Linked DNA regions of Homo sapiens: all the other regions are linked to region 1. The links are contacts of gene promoters, found by promoter capture Hi-C in blood cells and fetal thymus (Javierre and others, 2016). All regions are on one chromosome and are shown on one strand. Each heading gives the region's core, a stretch centred on a gene start or on the middle of the fragment in contact. The rest is flanking DNA. Distances are from core to core; before and after follow the strand shown.

Evidence for each region. Contacts are between HindIII fragments. The CHiCAGO score rates a contact against its expected background, and 5 or more counts as called.
Region 2: a contact is called between a fragment that was not itself captured here and the fragment with the promoter of CCAR2 in region 1, in 1 of 17 cell types (endothelial precursors). The highest score is 8.4, in endothelial precursors.
Region 3: a contact is called between a fragment that was not itself captured here and the fragment with the promoter of CCAR2 in region 1, in 16 of 17 cell types (endothelial precursors, fetal thymus, naive CD4 T cells and 13 more). The highest score is 20.9, in endothelial precursors.
Region 4: the fragment with the promoter of PEBP4-AS1 here is called in contact with the fragment with the promoter of CCAR2 in region 1 in 3 of 17 cell types (M2 macrophages, M0 macrophages and endothelial precursors); the score reaches 5.7 in M2 macrophages.
Region 5: a fragment that was not itself captured here is called in contact with the fragment with the promoter of CCAR2 in region 1 in 6 of 17 cell types (M0 macrophages, endothelial precursors, M1 macrophages and 3 more); the score reaches 8.6 in M0 macrophages.

What each region holds. Positions count from the first base shown.
Region 1 is chr8:22,603,324-22,606,023 of GRCh38, forward strand. CCAR2 (cell cycle and apoptosis regulator 2) reads left to right here and starts at 1,434. Exons shown (of 21, transcript NM_001393997.1): 1 at 1,434-1,519; 2 at 2,413-2,508. The coding sequence starts at 2,451. C8orf58 (chromosome 8 open reading frame 58) reads left to right here. Exons shown (of 7, transcript NM_001013842.3): 7 at 1-819. LOC107986876 (a long non-coding RNA gene) reads right to left here and starts at 1,677. Exons shown (of 1, transcript NR_160769.1): 1 at 1-1,677. RefSeq lists enhancers at 1,152-1,261, 1,268-1,768 and silencers at 1,432-1,731, 1,792-1,851. The HindIII fragment of the contact is 4,257 bases long and covers 1-2,700 here.
Region 2 is chr8:22,933,418-22,936,117 of GRCh38, forward strand. It overlaps a transcript of PEBP4 not described here. Among named protein-coding and RNA genes, the nearest start is that of PEBP4, 6.9 kb to the left of the region's middle. The HindIII fragment of the contact is 2,306 bases long and covers 206-2,511 here.
Region 3 is chr8:22,916,910-22,919,609 of GRCh38, forward strand. All of the region lies in intron 3 of PEBP4 (phosphatidylethanolamine binding protein 4), which reads right to left. Among named protein-coding and RNA genes, the nearest start is that of PEBP4, 9.7 kb to the right of the region's middle. RefSeq lists an enhancer at 2,637-2,700. The HindIII fragment of the contact is 1,575 bases long and covers 539-2,113 here.
Region 4 is chr8:22,876,611-22,879,310 of GRCh38, forward strand. It overlaps PEBP4-AS1 (PEBP4 antisense RNA 1), which reads left to right and starts at 1,362. Exons shown (of 4, transcript NR_125433.1): 1 at 1,362-1,541. The region is part of intron 3 of PEBP4 (phosphatidylethanolamine binding protein 4); the gene reads right to left. RefSeq lists a silencer at 945-1,014. The HindIII fragment of the contact is 10,906 bases long and covers 1-2,700 here.
Region 5 is chr8:22,893,689-22,896,388 of GRCh38, forward strand. All of the region lies in intron 3 of PEBP4 (phosphatidylethanolamine binding protein 4), which reads right to left. It overlaps LOC124901907 (a long non-coding RNA gene), which reads right to left. Exons shown (of 2, transcript XR_007060854.1): 2 at 1,363-2,700. Among named protein-coding and RNA genes, the nearest start is that of PEBP4-AS1, 17 kb to the left of the region's middle. The HindIII fragment of the contact is 1,551 bases long and covers 578-2,128 here.

The DNA.
Region 1 (2,700 bases), core at 184-2,683:
GGTGACCCTGGGTGGAGGGGACTTGCTGTGAAGTCTTCCTCGCCCTCTGCCCTCTTGCTGCTTCTCCACATTGCCAGGAAAAGCTGCTGACGCCTGCCCTCCTCTCTTGAGTCGAGGGCTGAATCTTTCTCCTCTAAGCAGTCTGGTCAGGAACCTTGGTTTCTTGAGAGGCCCCCAAGATGCCGCAGCTCCAGGGCTCTTCCTCCTCACCAGAAATCCCTGGGCTTCCACAATGTGAACTCACTCATTGTCAGGTGTCCGTGGAGTGTTTTTGGCATGGTGACCTGTCTGGGCCCAGCATGTTGCAGATGTGTATTTATGCGCAATGGTATGCATATCTCTGTGTGACTGTCAGTGTTGCAAGCTGGCTGGATCCAACCATCTCTTCTGAAATAATGCATCCAAAGGGTTGATATTCTGGGGGAGGTCACTGCAGAAGGATGGAACTGACCTTTATTCCCCAGTGGGCAGTTACTGAGCTTTCCTCCTCAGAGCCATGCTGGCAGCCCTGGGACAGAGAACGGTGTGGCTTTGGCTGCCTCTGCATGGAATCTTGCCCCGGACTCCTGAAGACTGCACAAGGAATGAGGAAGATCAGGGACAACCTGGGAACTGAATAACTTTCAAAGCCAGTGCTCAGCTTCTCTGCTCCGTACTAGCGTTTACAGGTCTTAATTCAAACCAGATGCCTGTACTAGTTTTTAGACCCCAAGTCAACCTTTCTGAGCCACAGCTTCCCGCTGGGAATAATGATGCCTGCCCTATCTACCTCACAGACTTGTTATGAGGATAAAGTGAGATTAAACTGCCTCAAAGTGCTTTGTAAACCTCAGGTGAATAGGAAAGGGGAAAGTAAGGCTGGAGTGATGATGGGGAGGTCGGAGGATAAGGGGGGGCTGGGATTGCTAATGGGGACTAAAATGGCCAGTCTCCTGGCAAGATTTTGAGCAGGTCATTTCATTGAGGCCTCTTAGATTTCATATTTGAGAATTAGGGCACTGATTCCTGACTGGCTAGGCATGGTGGTCACTGGCTTGAGTCAGACCAGGAATGTCTCTTAGAAATGGTCACTGATAGGCATCCTTCTCCTCCAGTCAGGAGGGGCTGGTTTCCTTATCTGTTGCAGTCTCGACTGCCAGAGGGAGGCGAGCGTGGTAGGCAGTCGGGGGTCCCTTGTGTTTGGGGGGCCCAGCTCCCGCTTCCTTTGAGCCCGGAACCAATGATCCGAAGCCTTCTTTCCTGATGGGATTCTTTAGCGAGGACACTACCGAGGCGCGACTTCCTGACGCGCATCCGATCCGGGAAGGCGCACTTCCGCTCCCCAGTTGCCGCGGGATGGCAAGCCGGCGTGGGGGAAGGGAGAGGTCGGCGGAGACGAGGGAGGGACCATATCCGGGAGAGCGGCAGCTTCCGACCAGTGGTCGCGCTTCCGGAGAGGCGCTTCCGGTGGCGGCGGCAGCAGCGGCTGTGGTGGTTCCGGGTGTCTTTGTCCCCCCGGTGTCGCTGCCCTGGCCCGCAGGTGGGTTGGGGGGCCCCCTGCCGCCCCTCTGCCCCTTCGCCCCTCCGCCCCTCCGCTGGCCGAGGGGCTGCGAGGGCCGGGCGGCGAAGATGCGTGGGGCGCGGAAGGGGCCGAGCCCCTCTTTGGACTGCAAGTCCCGTCTCCCTGGCAACGGCCTCGGCCTTGGGGGCGGGCGGGAGGAGGAGAAACCGCGCGCCTCAGTCCTCCCTTGGTGGCCTCGCCGCGGCTCTGCTGGGAGACCCGGCGCTGGCGGCTGCTGAGGCCGGAGCGGAGGGCCCGGGAGCGTGGGAGCAGGAGGGTGGCGCGCAGCCGGTTTCGCGTTTGGTCGGCCAGGGAGCTGCCTTCCCACCAGCCGGTCGAGGAAACAACGGGTCGGGCTTCCGGGGAGAGGGCCCACACAGTCTCCTCGCCGGCACCGGCCTCCTCCATTTTTCCGGGCCTTGCGTGGAGGGTTTTGGCGGATGTTTTTGAACGAAGGAATGTCATCGGGGCTCTCTCGAGCCCCTCACCCCGCCAGCTACTCTGGGGGTGGCGTGGCATAGTGAGAGGAGCGCTAAGTTGTTGGGAGGCCTGGGTGTGAGTAGCAGTTTTGTCACTACCTGGTTATGTGGCCCCGGGCAAGTCTCTTGATCTCTCTGAGCATCAGTTTCCTTGTCTGTAAAACAGCATGACAGTATCATGCACCACTAGGTTATTGTCAGGGCAAACTGGAACAATGTAATTTCTTGTTTCATTTCTTTCTTCTCTATATTCTCTCCATCCATTGCTTTCATTCATTCTTATTACCCACCTCCCTGTTTTCCGAAATATCCTTACTTAAGATTCTCCACTTTTCCGGGTATAGATGGAAATTTCCCTTATAAGCTGTTAATTTCTTTCTTTTTGGATTGAAGCCTTTTCCCCACGACTCTGAAAGAGGACAGCGTTCCCAATGTCCCAGTTTAAGCGCCAGCGGATCAACCCGCTTCCAGGGGGACGCAACTTCTCAGGTGATCACTGTTCTCCCTACCTGGCCTCATCCTGGGAAGTATGTGCTCTGGAGTTAGTTTGGGGTTTCCCTGGTGGAGAGCAATTTGCTGCTGATGTTCCTCTGGAAAGCAGGAGATGCCCACAGTGATTGCCAGTGAAGCTCTGTGGAGGAGCTGGCTGGAGCTGTAGCCTTTGGATTTACCACATCCTTT
Region 2 (2,700 bases), core at 109-2,608, 330 kb after region 1:
AATAAGAGAGAAGACTCATCATGTATAGGGATCCTCAATAAAATTATCAGCCAATTTATCAGCAGAAACTTTGAAGCCCAGGGGGCATTGGGATGATATAAAGTACTGAAAGAAGAAAAGTTGTCAATTAAGAATTCTATGTCCAGCAAAAGTATCTTCCAAAATATTAGTAAGAGAGAAATTAAGAAAGTCCCAGATAAACAAAAGCTTAGGGAGTTGATTACCACCAGCACTGCCCTGCAAGAAATGCTGAAAGTAGATCTTCAGGTTGAAATGAAAAGATGACAGTAAGCTGAAACTAGGTGAAGAAATATATCAAGATCTTTGTTTGAGGTAAACACACAGCAAATTAAAAAGCCAGTATTGTTGGAATTTTGGTTTGTAATTCCACTTTTAAATACAGGATGTCTTAGTCCATTTAGTGCTGTTATAAATGAATACCTGAGGCTGGATAATTGATAAAGAGGTTTATTTGGCTCACAATTCTGCTGGCCGGAAGACTGGGCATCTGGTAAAAGCCTCAGCCTTTTCCCACTCATTTTAGAAGGGAAAGGGAAGCTGGAGTGTGCAGAAATCACACAGTGAAATAGAAAGCAGGAATGAGAAATGGGAGGTGCCAGGCTCTTTTTAACAACCAGTTCTCATGGAACTAATAAAGTGAGAATGCACTCCCCTGGAACTGCATTCTATTCATGAAAGGTCTGCCCCCAAGATGCAAACACCACCCATTGGGCCCCACCTCCAATATTGGGGATCAAATTTCAACATGAGTTTTGCGGGGCACAAATATCTAAATTATAGCACAGGATTTAAAGACAATGAATAAAATAATTATAAATCTTTGTTAGTGGGTATATAATAATGTAAACTCTAACATCGGTAACACAAAATGGGGGGCACGGAGCTGTATAAGTAAAATGTTTGTATGCAATTGAAGTTAAGTTAGTATCAATTCAAATTAGATCATTATAACTTTAGGATGTTATATGTAATTCCCATGGTAACCACAAAATGTATTTATAGAATATACACAAAAGGAAATGAGAAGTGAATAAAACATGTCACTACAAAAAAAATCAACTAAATGTAAAGAAAGGTAGAAATGGAGGAAATGAGGAACACAAAAAGCTGAAAAGCAGCCAGATGCAGTGGCACATGCCTGTAGTTCCAGCTGCTTGGGAGGCTGAGGTGAGAGGATCACTTGAGCCTAGGAGTTTGAGGCCAGCCTGGGCCACATAGTGAGACCCCATCTCTTAAGAATGCAAGCAAGCAAGCAAGCAAGAAGAGCTAAAACATACAGAAAACAAATAACAAAATGGCAAAATAAGTCATTGAGTCATTGTCTATCAGTAAATGGATTTAAATTTAAATTTAATTGGGTTCAATGCCTCAGTCAAAAGTTATAAACTGGCAGATTAGATTTTTTAAAAATGATTCAATTATATACTGTCCACAATAGACTTGCTTTAGCTCTAAGGACACAAATAGATTGAAAGAGAAAGGATTTAAAAAGATGTACACAGTAACGAAAAGAGAACAGGGATGGCTATATTAATATCAGACAAAACAGATTTTAAAGTCTAGTTCTACAAGAGAAAAAGAAGGGCATTGTATATTGATAAGAATCAATTCATCAAGAAGATATAACAGTTATAAACCTATATGCACCAAACATCAGGGATCCAAAATATATAAGCATACAAGGATAGAATTGAAGGGAAAAATAGGTAGCTTAACAACAGTAATTGGAAATTTCAGTACTCCACTTTTAATAGTGAATAGAACAACTAGGCAGAAGACCAATTAAAGAAATGGGAGACTGGCTGGGCATGGTGGCTCACACCTGTCATCCCAGCACTTTGGGAAGCCGAGGTGGGTGGATCACTTGAGGTCAGGAGTTCAAGACCAGCCTGGCCAACATGGAGAAACCATGTCTCTACTAAAAATACAAAAATTAGCTGGGCATGGTGGCAGGCACCTGTAGTCCCATCCCAGCTACTTGGGAGGCTGAGGCAGGAGAATTGCTTGAACCCAGGAGGCAGAGGTTGCAGTGAGCTGAGATCGCTCCACTGCAGTCCAGCCTGGGCAGCAGAGTGAGACTGTCTCAAAAACAAAAAACACAATACATCCCTAAGCCAAAAATTGGAATTCTGAAATGCTTCAAGATTTAAAACTTTGAAGGCCTATGGAATACTACAAGTGAAAAAATCCTACACCTGACCTCATGTGATGGGTCACAGTCAAAACTTTGTTTTATGCACAACATTATTAATAATATTGTATAAAACTATCTTTAGGCTGTGTATAAGGTATATATAAACATAAATAAATTTCATGTTTAGACTTAGGTCCCATCTCCAAAATATCTCATATATGCAAATATTCTAAAATCTGAAAAATTTGAAATTTGAAATACTTCTTGTCCCAAGTGTTTTCGATAAGGGAAACAACTGGTATACCAAGATGTATGGGATGCAGTGAAAGCTGTACATGCTGTAAAATAGCTATAAAAGCTTACATTGAGAAGTTGTAAATGCTTATATTAAAAAAGAAGGAGGATCTCAAATCAACAACCTAAATTTACACCTTAAGGAGCTAGGGAAAAAAAAAAAAAAGAACAAGATAACCCAAAGCTAGCAGAAAGAAAGAAATACTAAAGATTGCAACAGACATAAAATAGAGAACAGAAAAACAGAAAAT
Region 3 (2,700 bases), core at 76-2,575, 310 kb after region 1:
AAAGAAAAGATCAGCCAGGGATGTAGGTGGAGCCCAGAGGGAGGCAGTCAGGGAAGGCTTCCTAGAGGAGGAAGCATTGTGACGGGAGCAGGGTCCAAAGACGCCAAGGATGGGGAAGTGGCCAATGCCAGAATATGGAGGTGGGAAGCTCTATGGTGGGCACAGAGGCACTGCTGCACCCCTCTTTCCAGGGCTTTGGAGTTTGCTGGGGGCGGGGGAGGGGGGGGTGTTCCCAGGCATGTCCAATGGCAGTCACTGCTTTGGTGGCATTGCTTCAGTCACCTTGGAAGCAATGCACCATCCCCACATAGCAGTCACCAACTCGTGCCCTTCTCCATCAGGCCCAGAAGAAATACCTTCATGCTCTTCTCTGTCCTAAACACTCAGGCTCCCCGCACCCTTTTCTTGAGGGACCCAGGTAGCACTTGCTCCTCCAGCCTCACCAGTCATGCCCTCTCCCTTAAGGGAAGCTCCAACTACCACCTTCCCTAGGAAGAACTATCCTTCCTGCCCACCCCCTTCCATTCTAACCAGGGAAAGCTTCCCTTCGGCCAGCCCACCCCTGCCTGTGCCAGCGCCCCCTGGTGTCTCCCTTAGAGCCCTTGCCAGTGGCCCACTGGCCAGGCCCATGGGCTCTGGAGTTGGGCAGACCTGGCTTTGACTCTGGCTCTGGCACCTTTCAGCTCTGTACTTGGCCAGATTACTCACTTCCATAGGACCTGCCTTGCATTTCCTACCTAACATCCTTTCACCCTTATCTGATCAATCACACCTTGACTTGCATTCAGGGCAACCATCCTCCTCTACTCTCAGTCCTTGTAGATTAAGGGGAGCTGTAGAGGGTCACTGCTAGGTTCAGGGATAGGCACAAGACCAAAGCGAGACCAATCCTGTGACTTTTAATGGATGGAAAACCCTATTTCCACTGGGGTTGACAAATTGGTCAAACACAAACCTAAGGCTGTTGGGGCCATCTTTGTCACAAGGGAAGACTCTATTTACAAATGAAAACAGCACAGAAAAAAACAATCAAGAGACAGATTCCTGGTGACACTGAGCACCTGGATCCAGCCTCGCCTGAAGTTATCCCTGGAGTTTTCAGTTTTGTGAACCAATGTTTCCCCCTCTTTTCTGGCTTAAGCCGATTTGAGTTGACTTTTTGTCACATGCCATTAATAGTCTTGATGAAAGAAATACTTAACTTGGAGACTTAAATGAAAGGTCCGAGTAGTGCCCAGGAATGGAATAAGGTGGCACTCACTGACCACTTTGGCAAATCTCTCTGAATCTGCCTTCTCATAGGTCTGTTACATTTCCATAAACTATAGTTCCATAGTAGTAGAATACTATGTTTTTCTTCTTCCCACAGCTTCGATCAAATCTTCCTTTGTAAAATCTTCACTCTCCCAGGCTTTCTTGACCACAGCTCTGTGTTCCTCATAAATCTCTATGTTCCACATCCGTTTTCTCCCCACCCCACCCCCGGGCTGAGGCAGGATGGGTTTAACAGTACAAGACTTCAGGATGTGGCGTGGGTGATGTCGTCTTTGTGTAATGTGCTGATAAGCCAGGGCAACGAAACCAAATCAAACCAAAGACTTTCCCAACAGGCTTCAAATCCCTGCTCTGGAGGACACCAGGTGCTCAGAAAAGTCTACACTGCCATCTAGTGGATGTCTGCAGCATCATCAGCACGCGGAAGGGAGCCCTTTGGGGAGAATTCCCTTGGGACTGTCCCTGGCCTGTGAAAGCATCCGACTGACCCTCACTACATAAGGGACAAACCCCAAGACAAGTGAATGGATGGTGAAGCCGAGAGTCCTGTCCCGCAGAGTAGCATATACTCCTCTAAAAGATTGGGTTCCTGCCCGGCCTCTGCACCTCCCATCCCAGGAGTTAGAATCAGCAGGCTTCCTTTCTCTGCTCCTCTTGGCTGTCCACAGGTGTGCCCAGTCCAAGGGTTTCCAGGGAAGAGGGCTGACGCTGTGTGCACATGGGTGTGCATGCAAGTGTGTGTGTGCACATGTGCACACATGTGCACGTGTGCACTTTATTGCTCGTCTTCCCAAAGGAAAGGGTGTTTGTCGTGTTTGCAAACAAGACAACCTAGCAAAGCTTCATGACAACAGCCTCATAACTTGCGAGCCATATCACAATCTATTTGCTCTCTGATAGTGAAAAACACTTCAAAGAGAAGAGTCTATTCCCCGCATTGGAGTAACTTGTGTGCTGCCGCCCTCTGGAGCTTGTTGTCCTACTGGGCTTAGCTGACTGCATGAGGCCTAACCAAGGCAGCACTGAGGGGAAGGAAGAACCCCTTGTGGCCCTTCCCTGCCACCCTGCACAGAAAGGACCAGAAGGTCAGCCTTGGTGTGTGTGCTTGGTCACATCCCGGCCACGACCCTTCCATCTCCAGGCATTTGTGACCCAAGTCCTGCCTAGATTGACAGCAGCACCTCCTTCTAAAACACAGCAGAAAAGAGGCCAGTCTCCACCATTGACACTCTGCGGGCTCAGTCTGGCCCAGGAGTCAAGAAATAAAGAAGCGGAGACCAGAAGGCCAGATCAGCTTCCCCAAAACACACTCTGGCTGCTTAGGGCAGCAGCAGACCCATTTCCCACTTCTATGACTCTTCCCCAGGCTTTCCAGACCCCTAAATGTAATAGCACTAATCACTGCCCAGTAAAATAGTTATTTCC
Region 4 (2,700 bases), core at 112-2,611, 270 kb after region 1:
CCCAGGGGCACCTCACAAACGTGCTTCATCGATGACAGTGTATGTTTATAGCGCTTGTGTTGTTGTGAAAATAAACAGCACTTGAAGTGTAAAATTAGAAGTAAATAAATGAGTTAGGAATTATTTTCTCCACTGTTTAAACAAAGCTACTTCTCAGGTGGGACATTAGCTTCCTTGGAGCAAAGCCAAAATCTGGCTTGGTTAGCCAGAAAATGTAAACACATTTCTGTTAATGTTCAGGGTAGAAAGGAGAACCTCTCCCTTAACTGCTGTGTGAGGCTGGACTAGTTATTCAACCTCTCTGGGCCTTGGACCCTTATCTTTAAAATGAGGCTAATAGTGCCTCCTTCATTAAGTCTTTGCCAGGACTGAAATGTACATTTCATAGCATGATGCTTGGATCAGAAAAGCACTCCATATATATTAGCTATTTGAATTATGATTTGGGTTTCAGGGAGTTTATTCCACCCTTATAAACATATCAAGTGGACACCATGTTTTGGTCTTTTCTTTCCTCCTCAAACCAGGCTGTGCTGAATGGGAATCCTCAAACAGCCCTCAGCCTCAGGGATAAGGTGTCCCAGCCATTTCTACTGTAATGGCTAAGAGCCCTTTTTGTCCAGTCTCTCCCTGTCCTCAGTTGTCCAGGTGAGGACAGCTGACTTTGGAATAGAAAGATGATGGGGCTACGTGTCCTTATTGTGAATCAAAACGTCAGGTCCATGTTTTGATTCTGAGGTCAGAATCAAACCAACCTCCTGGTTGGTTGGCAGGTCCTTGGGACTTTTGTGCCTTCAAAATGTCAGGTTATTTGCCCTGACTCCAGTAGCCCAGCACGACCCAAGTACTACATTCTTGGGCAGAGCCAGCCAGAGCCAGGAGGCACTGACTTTGTCTCTCCGTAGCCAAATGGCTGGGAAACTAGCTGGGAGGAGAGGAGGTGAGGCCAGCAGCTTGTGAACACACGGGCGGGCTCACTGTTGGCAGCGGGGAGGAGGCTCCTGGGCTGGGCTGAGCCCAGCCACCCTCACCCCAGGGGCCCACCACCCCACCTCCCCACCTCCCCCTCCTGTTATGAAACCCACGGGGACAACCACACATGTGGGCAGCCGGGGGCTTTCCTCGAATTGACAACAGCTTCTCGCTGTCGCTCGGCAGAACATGAGCTGCTTACATAAACACTGCCTCAGAGACACCTGCAGTGTGGGACGCAGGGAGTCGGAGGAGGGTGGAGGGAGAGGCAGAAAGCTGCAGGGTGAGAGAACGGCTCCCCACCCCACCATGGAGGGGCCGTCTGTGCATCCATACACTGCACACGCGTGCGCAGACACACACACACACACACAGACACACACGAAGTTGGTTACTTTCTCAGCTGTAACCAGGAGGCAGGGAAGAAGGCAATGCAGTCCTCATTCTTTAGAGACTCAACCTGTGTCCCCAGCCCTCCCCACCTCCTCCCACACCCCCCTCCAAACTCAGCTTGGCTGGGAAAGGAAACTCCCCAGTCTGCTGTGCTCCTGCAAGCTGAGTGTTTGCAGGTGAATCTACTCCAGGTACAGGAGCAGCTCCTGAGGGAAAGGGGGTGGAGGGTGAGCATGGAGAGGGAGGGGGAGAGGGAGGGAGGGAGGGAGGGAGGGGCGGAATCCCTGGAATTTAAGGTTAGAGAATATAGTAGGGGACTGGCCTGGTAAGATGGTATTTGGGGGCCTCTACGGAAAACACATCCTGCAGGTCAGACCAGCATGGGCTCTGCGGGAGAGGGTGGAGGGTCAGTGCATGCTCAGTGGGAGGGCTCTGAGAGGTGGCAGGACCCGGCCGTGTGGCAGTGGCCTTGGGTTTCCAAGTGGTGCTTTCTCACTTTTCTGCCCGTCAGTTTACCTGACACACCAAGTGACTGAGATTGCTGCCTGTGAGTTACCCTATTGCTCATATCTAATCACAAAGCGCAGACAGGTGGGGAGGGCTTCCCTCTCCGGGCCTGGCACCTCTGGGTTTGGGTACTCTGGCCTCCTTCCTCTGGGATGCTCACTCGGACTCTGCTACTGGCCAGCCTGAGCAAGTCGGCAGAGCACAGGATCTCCAAACAGGGGTGCATTCCCTGGCTTCATCAGAGAGGAGGCTTGGAGCTCAGGGAACAGAGAGCAAACTGGATGTCTAGGCCAAGCTGGATGCCAAGGGGAAAATAGCCCTCCTTTTGAAAGTATTCTTGCATTTTAACTGTCATCACAGTTAAGCCACCACGGGCAGACCCTGGAGGCTGGAAGAGGGCATCCAGAATGATGTTGGGCTGGTTTCTTATCACAGAGCACCGGGTAGGGGGATGAGCTAAAAATTATAGTTCTTGTTCCCAGCTTAGCGTGGCTATGGGGCGGGTGGTATCTCCTCTGTGTTCCTTCATCTCTTTAGAGACTGAAAGAGAGGACAAGCCCTTCCCCATGGGAAACATTTTACTATGCTCTATCCTAATCTCATCTCAGAGCCCACTCACAGTGAATAGATCTCAGCTAGGAAGGGAAGCAAATATCCCCAGTGACGATGAAGACCAGACATGGAGGTTTAACTGATCTGTGTGAGGCCACAGAACGAGAGTGTGGCCTCAACGCTCTCAATGTTGACAGAACAGCACTCAACATATTGCATTGCGACATGTCTGCTTCTGGACTGCCTATCCCACCAGGCCGTGAGCGCCCCAGAGGT
Region 5 (2,700 bases), core at 103-2,602, 290 kb after region 1:
AACTATACAGAATAAGATATTAGTGAACTTGAAGACACAGCAATAGAAACTATTCAAAATAAAACACAGAGAGAAAAAAGACTGAAAAAAACCCACCAGAATAGCATATCAGTGAGCTGTGGGACATCTTCAAGTAGCCAAATATACATGCAATAGGAGTCCCTAAAATTCCCTTTTAGGGAATATTAGAAAAAATATTAGAAGACATAATGGCTGAAAAATGTCTTAATTTGATGAAAACTGTAAACCCACAGATCCCAGAAGCCCAACCAAAGAAATGCCAAGCACAAGACACATGAGAAAACTACACCAAACACATCACAATCAAATTGCTTAAAACCAGTGAAGATGAGAGCACAGGTTACCATTAGCAAATGTGTCACTGGCAGCCCGCGGCATATAGTAGCAAAATAATCTTGATTATCAAGTGTGATTACCTAGAACAAAGTACCCATTGAAGATAAGAGTTTGGCGGAATTGCACGATAGATTATTATGTCAGAATGATGAATATAAAGATGTTGGAATAAGATGACTTCTTCTGCCAGAAGTGGGAAAAGTAAAGAAAAATGGTTAGAAGCTTGAGGTTTAAATTCTTGGCACAGCCATGCATAGTGGCTCACTCTATAATCCCAGCACTTTGGGAAGCCAAGGCAGATGGATGGCTTCAGCCCAGGAGTTCGAGACCAGCCCAGGCAACATGGTAAGACCCTGTCTCTACAAAAAATAAAAAATAAATAAAAAAAATTCCAAGCATAGTGGCATGTGCCTGTAGTCCCAGCTACTCAGGAGGCTGAGGTGGGAAGATTGCTTGATTCCAGGAGGTCAAGGCTGCAGTGAACCGTAATCATGCCACTGCACTCCAGCTTGGGCAACAGAGTGAGACCCTGTCTCTAAAAATAAAATAAAATAGTAATAAATTCTTGGCTCAAGGCTCAATCAGAAGAGCAAGGAACAGTTAAGACTATCCTGAAAGAATCTCCCACGGTTTGTAGTTTCAGGGCCAACAAAACTGAAATCAGAAGTGAAGTCTGACCCAGCAGGTTGTAGAATTACAACCTAAGTTAAGTTCACAGCCTCATCAGGTCTCTTATGGGAGATGGTGTTGACTGGGAAAGATGGAACCCTGTGAATGGGGATGCTGAATTCATATAACTGAGTCTTAGACCCTGCTGAGCCTCCCTTTCCAGCAGAAGCTGCCCCTTTTCCCCAGGTCCTGTCTTGCAAGAGAATCCTGATTCTCCCTGAGGTCGACACTTACCACCCCTGGCTGCTCCTGACCTATTCTAGAATCAGATTTCAGCATGGCCAAGGGAGACAAGCACAAAGTCTGATTCTGAAACAGTAGACTTTCACACCAAAGTAGGTGCCATTTGTTTTTTAATATTTATTGGCAGAAATCTGAGAAATGTATAGTAAGGTGCTGATCACGGAGGAAAGAAGATCATTTTCAATTGGGCCATATTGATCAATATGGATTCTGGATCCAAAGTACTGGCTGGATCATCTGGGTATGGTTCTGTTCACTCAGTGGGTTATCTGAAATGAAACCTGAACTGAATGGCATCCTATACTAAATAAAGCTAAGGTGACAGAAGTTCCTTGATATAAAGCAAGGAATCTTAATACCTGGAGAGGCATAATAATGTTGGGGTGGGCTTACACATGTGTTCCCCACATACCCTCCTTCACTCTGTCCCAGGAGAACATACTTTCTTCACAAGCATTTAGACATGCTTTGGTGAGGGGGACACCGGCATTCTGTTTTCCTTGGTTGTCTTCAGAATTTATCTTTGGTTTTTAGCAGTTTGATCATGACACATCTAGGTGGATTTTTTTAAAAATTCTGATTAAGGTTCTCTGAGTATCTTGGACTTGTGGTATGTTGCCTTTCTTTAACAAGTTCTTGGTCATTATCTCTTCAAATAGTTCTACTCTGCTCTCTTTTCTTAATGAGATCCCAACTATACATATGTTAGACCATTTTATGTTGTCTCACAATGCTTGGGTGCTCTGTTCTGTCCCCCAGCCTTCTTTTCTCTCTTTATATTTCTTTAGATCATTTCTGTTGCTCTATCTTCAAGTTCACTGATTTTTCCAGTTTATATGTTACGTCTAATTTGCTGAGAAGCTTAAGTTCCTGTTTCAGTAACCTGACTAGTTTTCCAAGTTTGTCGGAAGTTCTGCTTTTTTGGCCACATCCTTGAACCCAGCCTAGGTGGCATTGGCCCTGCTTCCCATGGGCAGGTTTCTTCATGCCAGCCTCTCTGCCTGTGCTCCCAGTTACTGCCTACCTACTGCCCCCTCTGCCCTGGGGCAGATTTGCTGTGTGGCATCAGACAGTTGCCTGAAAGTTGCTGGTATTGTGGTTGGAGAGATGAAACCATGTTCCCAAATCCCACATCCTTGCATCAAGTAAGAAAAGTGCCACTGGAACCTAGAATGATGTGGGAACCCAGAAGAAGAAGATGTCCTAGTCTGGGAGGAGAGACAGGGAATGGAGCTTGGACAATCACTGTCATAGCTGGAGTGTGATCTGATGAAGATCTGAACTAGAGAAATACATAGGCCACGGTAATACTAATTAATCAGGAATGGTTGAGTTTTGCTCCCGCTGACCTATCAATTCTTACTCCAATGGCTCCTTTAACCGATAGTTGCAGTGTTCAGTGGGGTATTATCCAGGCTCCAACGTGTTTGC